Linked DNA regions of Homo sapiens: regions 1 and 2 are each linked to region 3. The links are contacts of gene promoters, found by promoter capture Hi-C in human tissues and cell types (Jung and others, 2019). All regions are on one chromosome and are shown on one strand. Each heading gives the region's core, a stretch centred on a gene start or on the middle of the fragment in contact. The rest is flanking DNA. Distances are from core to core; before and after follow the strand shown. Region 1 overlaps NCOA6 (nuclear receptor coactivator 6). Region 2 overlaps TM9SF4 (transmembrane 9 superfamily member 4). Region 3 holds the start of CDK5RAP1 (CDK5RAP1 mitochondrial tRNA methylthiotransferase).

The links. Contacts are between HindIII fragments. The study calls those that stand out against the background at their distance.
Region 1: a contact is called between a fragment that was not itself captured here and the fragment with the promoter of CDK5RAP1 in region 3, in 1 of the 25 tissues and cell types used here (small bowel).
Region 2: a fragment that was not itself captured here is called in contact with the fragment with the promoter of CDK5RAP1 in region 3 in 1 of the 25 tissues and cell types used here (pancreas).

The regions. Positions count from the first base shown.
Region 1 is chr20:34,782,625-34,785,324 of GRCh38, reverse strand. The region is part of intron 2 of NCOA6 (nuclear receptor coactivator 6); the gene reads left to right. Among named protein-coding and RNA genes, the nearest start is that of NCOA6, 42 kb to the left of the region's middle. The HindIII fragment of the contact is 4,070 bases long and covers 1-2,700 here.
Region 2 is chr20:32,121,913-32,124,612 of GRCh38, reverse strand. The region is part of intron 1 of TM9SF4 (transmembrane 9 superfamily member 4); the gene reads right to left. Among named protein-coding and RNA genes, the nearest start is that of TM9SF4, 14 kb to the right of the region's middle. RefSeq lists an enhancer at 2,582-2,700. The HindIII fragment of the contact is 6,207 bases long and covers 1-2,700 here.
Region 3 is chr20:33,400,260-33,402,959 of GRCh38, reverse strand. CDK5RAP1 (CDK5RAP1 mitochondrial tRNA methylthiotransferase) reads left to right here and starts at 1,441. Exons shown (of 14, transcript NM_016408.4): 1 at 1,441-1,532. It overlaps LOC124904889 (a long non-coding RNA gene), which reads right to left and starts at 1,378. Exons shown (of 2, transcript XR_007067567.1): 1 at 1,285-1,378. RefSeq lists enhancers at 1,301-1,500, 1,641-1,730. The HindIII fragment of the contact is 17,720 bases long and covers 1-2,700 here.

The DNA.
Region 1 (2,700 bases), core at 138-2,637, 1.4 Mb before region 3:
CTGACCCTGCTGTTGTTTCTTAACCACCCAAATCAGTTTCATTGTAACAGTCATAGCACTAGAAAAGGATATAATTGCCAGAACACAAGGTGCTCTGCTCAAATTTGGAAGTATTTTTGCCATATTTACTTATAACAGAAGAATTTTTCCCCCAAGGATTGCTTAGGTTGGTTTTTGGAAAGCCTTTGCTGTTGAAGTTTAGTCAGTAGTAATTTTTTTATTTTATTTTATTTATTTATTTTTGAGATGAAGTCTTGCTCTTGTCCCCTAGGCTGGAGTGCAGTGGTGCGATCTCAGCTCACTGCAGCCTCCGCCTCCAGGGTTCAAGTGATTCTCCTGCCTCAGCCTCCCAAGTAGCTGGGATTATAGGCGCCTGCTACCATGCCCAGCTAATTTTTCTATTTTCAGTAAAGACGGGGTTTCACCATGTTGACCAGGCTGGTCTCGAAATCCTGACCTCAGGTGATCTGCCCACCTCAGCCGCCTAAAGTGCTGGGATTACAGACATGAGCCACCGCGCCCAGCCTATTTTATTTTTATTTTTAGAGACAAAAATGTTGCTATCACCCATACTGGAATGCAGTGGCACTATCGTAGCTCACTGCTGCCTCGAACTCCTGGGTTTGAGGGATCCTCCCGCCTCAGCCTCCTGAGTAGCTGGGGCTATAGGCATGCACCACCACACCCAGTTAATTTTTTTATTTTTTGTAGAGACAAGGTCTCACAGTGTTGCCCAGGCTGGTCTTAAATCGCTGCCCTCAAGCCATCCACCAGCCTCACTATTTAAAAAAGAAAAATTGGTTGGACATGGTAGCTCATGCCTGTAATCCCAGCACTTTGGGAGGCCAAGGTGGGAGGATCACCTGAGCCTAAGAGTTTGAGACCAGCCTGGGCAATATGGCAAGATCCAATCTCTGCAAAAAATTTTAAAAATTAGCTGGGCACGGTGGTACACGCCTGTAACCCCAGCTGCTTGGGAAGCTGAGGCGAGAGGATCACTTGAGCCCAGGAGGTTGAGGCTGCAGTGAGCCATGTTTTTGCCACTACATTCCAGCAACAGAGAAAGACCGTGTCTCAAAAAAATAAATTAAAAAAAAAAAAGTTAAACGGTGTTTGAGTTACTTTTTTTCATTTATGCAAGGAATATAACCATATTACAGCAGTTTTGTATTTCCTAATGATTTGCAGCATATTTGGAAAATAGGAAAATAAAATTTATCAATGATCCTACCAACCTAATATAGTTGCTTTTTAGGGGATTAATTTTCTTATCCATCTTTTTTTTAAGAAACTTGTAATTATAGTTATAAGTATAAAGTAATAATTCGTAATACTTTAATAATATAAATAAGTGCCATAAATAAAGGCTGGACATGTGCCATAAATAAATAAGTGCCATAAATAAATAAAAGGTGGCTCACGCCTGTAATTCTAGCACTTTGGGAGGCCAAGGTGAATGGCTTGCTTGAGCTCAGAAGTTCAAGACCAGCCTGGGCAACATGGCAAAACCCCATCTCTACTAAAACTACAAAAGATTAGCCAGGCATGATGGTGCTTGCCTGTAGTCCCAGCTACTCGGGAGGCTGAGGCAGGAGAATTGCTTGAACCTGGGAGGTGGAGGTTGCAGTGAGCCGAATTGTGCCACCGCAGTGCAGCCTGGGCAAAAAAGTGAGACTCTGTCTCAATCAATCAATCAATCAATGTTGTATTATAGTTAAAATTATAAGGAATTATTTTATTAGAACATTTGTGGGAGGTTCTTAGGTTTCCATGCCATTTTTGCTTACCGCAAATGCTGAAAATTAATGTTCATTCATTTACTTTTGGGTTAAGTATGTGATCTTCAATCCCCAAACTAACAGAGGAAATGGCCACACTGTGTGATCTTTAATACATGTACTCTTTGGTAAGCAGCATACCTGAAGATAGCAGAAAATGTAACTTCTTTATATCTAAAATTTAGGAAGCAATTTAATTCTGTCCGGAACACAGTTCTTTACCTCCATAAAGATTACCTGTCCATATCAACCCCCTTTTTTTTTTGAGACGGAGTCTTGCTCTGTTGCCCAGGCTGGAGTGCAGTGACGCAACCTCGGCTCCCTTCAACCTCCACCCTCCTGGATTCAAGCAATTCTCCTGCCTCAGCCTCCCTAGTAGCTGGGATTACAGGCATACACCACCATGTCCAGCTTATTTTTGTGTTTTAGTAGTGGCAGGGTTTCATTATGTTGGCCAGGCTGGTCTCAAACTCCTGACCTCAAGTGATCTGCCCACCTTGACCTCCCAAAGTGCTGGGATTACAGGTGTGAGCCACTGCGCCCAGCCCTTTCATATAAGAATTTTTAAGTGTTTATTTCAGAATCATTATTTTCAGCCATTCCACTGTTAATAACCCTTTAATAGTTGTTTAAAATGGTTCATGAAAGACTTCAGAATTTTAGGTAATCATCCAGTTGCTATTAGTCAGGTCTGGTTGTGCTTTGTAGTTTGGAGAAAGAAGAAGGCTTTAGAAACCTTGGCTCCTTTTAAGCTTTTGTCAAGACAGAAGTAGGGGGAGTCTTGGGGAGCCCCTTGCTCTGTGGGGTCAACCAAAGGCCTATAATTCTCAAAAAGTATGTACTTGTTTTATTTTCTTGTGATCCTTTCTTCCCTTCTCCTGACATTCTAGCTTATAAAAAAGTAGCATATAACATAATAAAA
Region 2 (2,700 bases), core at 186-2,685, 1.3 Mb after region 3:
TTCATCTAAAAAAAAAAAAAAAGTTTTTAAAAGAACTTCAGAGGTCATATAATCCAGGGGGTCAGAGAGGGAAACTGAAAGACCCACGGTCACACAGCAAGTTATCTGCAAAGTGAAGTAAGTCCAGTTCCACCCAGACTGGCACAGCCAAGTGAACAGAGGTCTATCACCAGGCTGGGAACCATGCTTAGGGACAGTTTGAGGTCACGATTAGAGGTGTTCAAGAAGAACTGTACTGCCACAGATGAACTGCTTATTTTTCTCCTTTGACCATCCCTTTCCAATTATTTTCCTCTGATTGTTTGTCTCACTTGTCTCTCCCCCAATTCAAAGCCTTTCTTTTAACAAACCATTGTAGTCAATTTGGTATTTGTCCGTTACTTCGGGATGATTTTGAAAAGAGAAATAATGAAGGCAGGCTAGTTTTACTAAACATTAAAATGTAGACCTACCCAGGCCAGGCATGGAGGCTCACACCTGCAATCCCAGCACTTCGGCAGGAGAATCACTTGAGGACAGATGGGAGTTTGAGAACAGCCTGGACAAAATAGTGAGACCTTGTCTCTACAAAATTATTTAAAAATTAGTTGGGTATGGTGAAGTGGGCTTGCAGACCTAGCTACTTGGGAGGCTGAGGCAGGAGGATCACTTGAGTTCAGGAGTTTGAGGTTGCAGCGAGCTATGATTGTGCCACTGCACTCTAGCACAGATGACAGAGGGAGACCCTATCTCTTTAAAAAAAAAAATATATATATATATATATATATGAGAGAGAGAACACGTGAGCTAGAGAGCTATCCAAAGTGTTTGATACTGGTGAAAAGAACATAAAAGACTTACAAGTATAATTAAAATAGAAGTATTAGAAGAAAATATGGATATGCTTTTAAATAATCTTCATGGAAAGTTTCCTAAGAATAAAGCAAAATCCAGAAGGTATAAAGAAAATGTATATATAAATGTATAAGGGAAAAAAATGAAAAAATACACCAAAGAGAAAGAAAAAGAGTTTAGGTAAAAACATTTAACATACTTGACCAAGAACTACTTTCTTCAATATACAAGGACACTTAGAAACTGATAAAGGACAAATAATCCAAAAGAAATACGAATGGGCAGTTAAAAAAAAAAGCTCAAATGGCCAAACACAAAAAGATGCTCAGCATCATTCATAATTTAAAAACTGTAGGTCAAAATAATATCTCATTTTTTGCTTAACAGAGTTATAAAGCTTTAAAAAGTATGATTAGCCTAGATGTAGGTAAACTGGTACAGTCTTTAGGGAGGGTAATTTAGTGATATATACTTACATAGAAGGTAGAACTGTTACTGAAGTACTGCCAACATAAGCTATTACGTAGAAAAAAAAAAGCCTCTCCCTCTCCCTCTCCCCCTCCCCCCTCCCCCTCCCCCCTCCCCCTCTCCCCCTCCCCCCCTCCCCCTCTCCCTCTCCTCATGGTCTCCCTCTCATGCCGAGCCGAAGCTGGACTATACTGCTGCCATCTCGGCTCACTGCAACCTCCCTGCCTGATTCTCCTGCCTCAGCCTGCGGAGTGCCTGCAATTGCAGGCGCACGCCGCCACGCCTGACTGGTTTTCGTATTTTTTTGGTGGAGACGGGGTTTCGCTGTGTTGGCCGGGCTGGTCTCCAGCTCCTAACCGCGAGTGATCTACCAGCCTCGGCCTCCCGAGGTGCCGGGATTGCAGACGGAGTCTGGTTCACTCAGTGCTCAATGGCGCCCAGGCTGGAGTGAAGTGGCGTGATCTCGGCTCGCTACAACCTCCACCTCCCAGCCGCCTGTCTTGGCCTCCCAAAGTGCCGAGATTGCAGCCTCTGCCCAGCCGCCACCCCGTCTGGGAAGTGAGGAGCATCTTTGCCTGGCCACCCATCGTCTGGGATGTGAGGAGCCCCTCTGCCTGGCTGCCCAGTCTGGAAAGTGAGGAGCGTCTCTGCCCGGCCGCCATCCCATCTGGGAAGTGAGGAGCGCCTCTTCCCGGACGCCATCACATCTAGGAAGTGAGGAGCGTCTCTGCCCAGCCGCCCATCGTCTGGGATGTGAGGAGCGCCTCTGCCCGGCCGCCACCCCGTCTGGGAGGTGAGGAGCGTCTCTGCCCGGCCGCCCCGTCTGAGAAGTGAGGAGACCCTCCGCCCGGCAGCCGCCCCGTATGAGAAGTGAGGAGCCTCTCCGCCCGGCAGCACCCCCGTCTGAGAAGTGAGGAGCCTCTCCGCCCGGCAGCCACCCCGTCTGGGAAGTGAGGAGCATCTCCGCCCGGCAGCCACCCCGTCCGGGAGGGAGGTGGGGGGGGTCAGCCCCCCGCCAGGCCAGCCGCCCCGTCCGGGAGGGAGGTGGGGGGTCAGCCCCCCGCCAGGCCAGCCGCCCCGTCCGGGAGGGAGGTGGGGGCATCAGCCCCCGGCCCGGCCAGCCGCCCCGTCCGGGAGGGAGGTGGGGGGGTCACCCCCCCCGCCCGGCCAGCTGCCCCGTCTGGGAGGTGAGGGGCGCCTCTGCCCGGCCGCCCCTACTGGGAAGTGAGGAGCCCCTCTGCCTGGCCAGCTGCCCCGTCCCGGAGGGAGGTGGGGGGGTCAGCCCCCCGCCCGGCCAGCCACCCTGTCCGGGAGGGAGGTGGGGGGGTCAGCCCCCCGCCCTGCCAGCCGCCCCGTCCGGGAGGGAGCTGGGGGGGGTCAGCCCCCCGCCCGGCCAGC
Region 3 (2,700 bases), core at 192-2,691:
TTCCCTGGCTCAAGCAATCCTCCCTGCCTCAGCCTTCTGAGTAGCTGGGACCACAGGTACCCACCACCATGCCGGGGTAATTTTTGTGTTTTTTGTAGAGATGGGGTTTTATCATGTTGCTCAGGCTAGTCTAGAACTCCTGGGCTCAAGCAATCTGCCCATCTTGGCCTCCCAAAGTGCTGGGATTACAGATGTGAGCCACCACGCCCGGCCTGCCACGGAGAGTTTTCAGGAGAGGGGTGATATAATTTGATTTAATAAAACAAACACAAATTCCCTTAGGCTATGTGTGGGAAACTGTTCTCAGGAGACAAGGTGACCATTAGCAGGCTACTGTGATTGTTTCTGATGAGACAATGGTGGCCTGGGTAGTTGTAGCTACCGAGTAGACAGATTTGACATTTTGGAGTTAGAGTTGACAGGGCTTACTGACAGATAGAATGTGGGGATCCAGGGAGGTGAAGAAAATGACCATTCAGTTCCTCCTAGTGCACCTGGAAGGATGGTTGGGCCATTTACTGAGATGGGCCAGAATGACAGGTACAGGTTTTTGGTGAAGGTGCATGTGTGGAAATGAAGAGTTCTGTATAAGTTAGAGATGGTCATCAGACACTCAAGAAGGGGTGTCAAGTAGGCAGCTGAGCTATGGCTCTGGTACTGCAGGGAGGGTCCAGCTGGAGATGTGAATCAGGAAGTCATTAACCTACAGGGCAGCACCCTCCAATAGAAATAGAGCGTGAACCTCTTAGGTGACTTAAAATTTCCCAGTAAGGACCGGACACGGTGGCTCATGCCTACAATCCCAGCACTTTGGGAGGCCAAGGTGGGAGGATGGCTTGCGCCTAGGTAGGAGTTTGAGACCAGCCTGGGCAACATGGGGAGACCGGTCTCTACAAAAAAATTAAAAAAATTTTAGCTGGGCGTGGTGGCGCCTGCCTGTAGTCCCAGCCACTTGGGAGTGTGAGGTGGGAGGATTGCTTTAGCATGGGAGGCGGAAGCTGCAGTGAGCCATGATCACACCATATTATTTTTCCCCCTGCTAGCCACATTGAAAAAGTAAAAAGAAACAACAGGTGAACTTAATTCAAATATTTCTACCACCATAGCTACAAATAAAAAAAACTAATTCAACAAATGTACTTATTTAATCCAATATATCCCAACAATTATTGCAGCACATAATCAATATAAACATTATATATATGAACTATTTGACACTATTTGACATTTCTTCTTCCACATCCAGTGTATCTGACATTTAGCGCACATTTGATTTGCACTCACCCACTTTGAGGAGCTCAATTGCCGCTTAAGTCCGTGGCTAGTGGCTGCCCTAAAGTTCAGCACCGCCACGGAGCTTTGGGTCCACCCGGACTGTAAAAAGGAAGCACTTCCGTTAGCATGACCCGGCCTGAAGTAGCGGCGGAACGGAAGTCGCTTGTGTATGAACGCAGCGGCGGACCTGTGAGGGGATCCGACTTGCCGGCAGAACTTACGCTGCGGGACCCCGGGCACTGTTGCTGCTGCGGGAGGTGAGCAGCGCGGCCGCCGGGGTGGGCTGCGCACCCGCTTTTGACTGGCGCCTGGGGCAGGAGGGGCCGCGGATCCCGGGAAGCGCACGGTGTTCAAGAGGGAGGATGGCACGGTGGTTATGGCGTGGGGCCTGGCGTCAGGCTGTAGGGGTTCGTACCCTAACCCCGCCGCCTAACCCCGTGTGACCTTGGACAGGTCACCTCCACTTCTTTCAAGGCTTCGCTTCGCCACCCGTGAAGTGGGGTTGACAGTACAGCCTGCCTCACAGGGTTGCTATGAGGGTTATAGGTAATAATTCGCGGAAAATGCTTTGCACCATGCCTAACGCATTGTAACCAGCCAATAAAATGTTTGGGATGTTGTACGCTGTTGTTCCAGCCTCATTGCCGACTGTCAGAATTAATTTCGAGCCTCCAGAGAGGCTTCTACATTGCGTTATGCAAAGCATTTTGCTTGTATTATTGCATTTGATCCTACGGTAGGCTTATGGAGATAGGTGCTATTATCCCCATCTAGAGGCTCCCAGAGTTTAAGACAGGTGCCTAAGGTTTAGCTGGCTTGGCAGCAGTGGGGTCAGATTCTGACTCCAGGGTCCATACTTTTTTTTTCTTGAGACGGGAGTCTTGCTCTGTCGCCCAGGCTGGAGTGCAGTGACGCGATCTCGGCTCACTGTAGCCCCTGCCCCGCGAGTTCCAGCGATTCTCCTGCCTCAGCCTCCTGGGTAGCTAGGATTACAGGCGCATACCACCACACCCGGCTAAGTTTTGTATTTTTAGTGGAGTTCATACTCTTAACCAGGATGCTCTAATACTCTCTGTGAAAGGGGGTGTGGGCTGTAAATGTGCAGTTAGTGAACGCTTACTGTATCTCAAGTTGGGTTTTTAATATCTTATTCTTAATAACACTTATGGGGTGGTAGGTGCTGCTTTTATCCTTATTTTACACATGTGGAATTGGCGGCTCAGAGACAGAAATTTGTCTTGCCAAAGGTCACACAGCAATTATGGAGTAGAAAGGGGCGATTTTAAAGTTCACACTTTAAGGCTGTTCTTCTCTGACTCTTGAAACTGGGTTGGCATTGCTCCTAAGTGCTAGTAGCAGATGTGGCAGGTCATCTCATTGGAAAGGTAATGGGCCACATCTGCTCTTTACACGTGTATAGCAGGG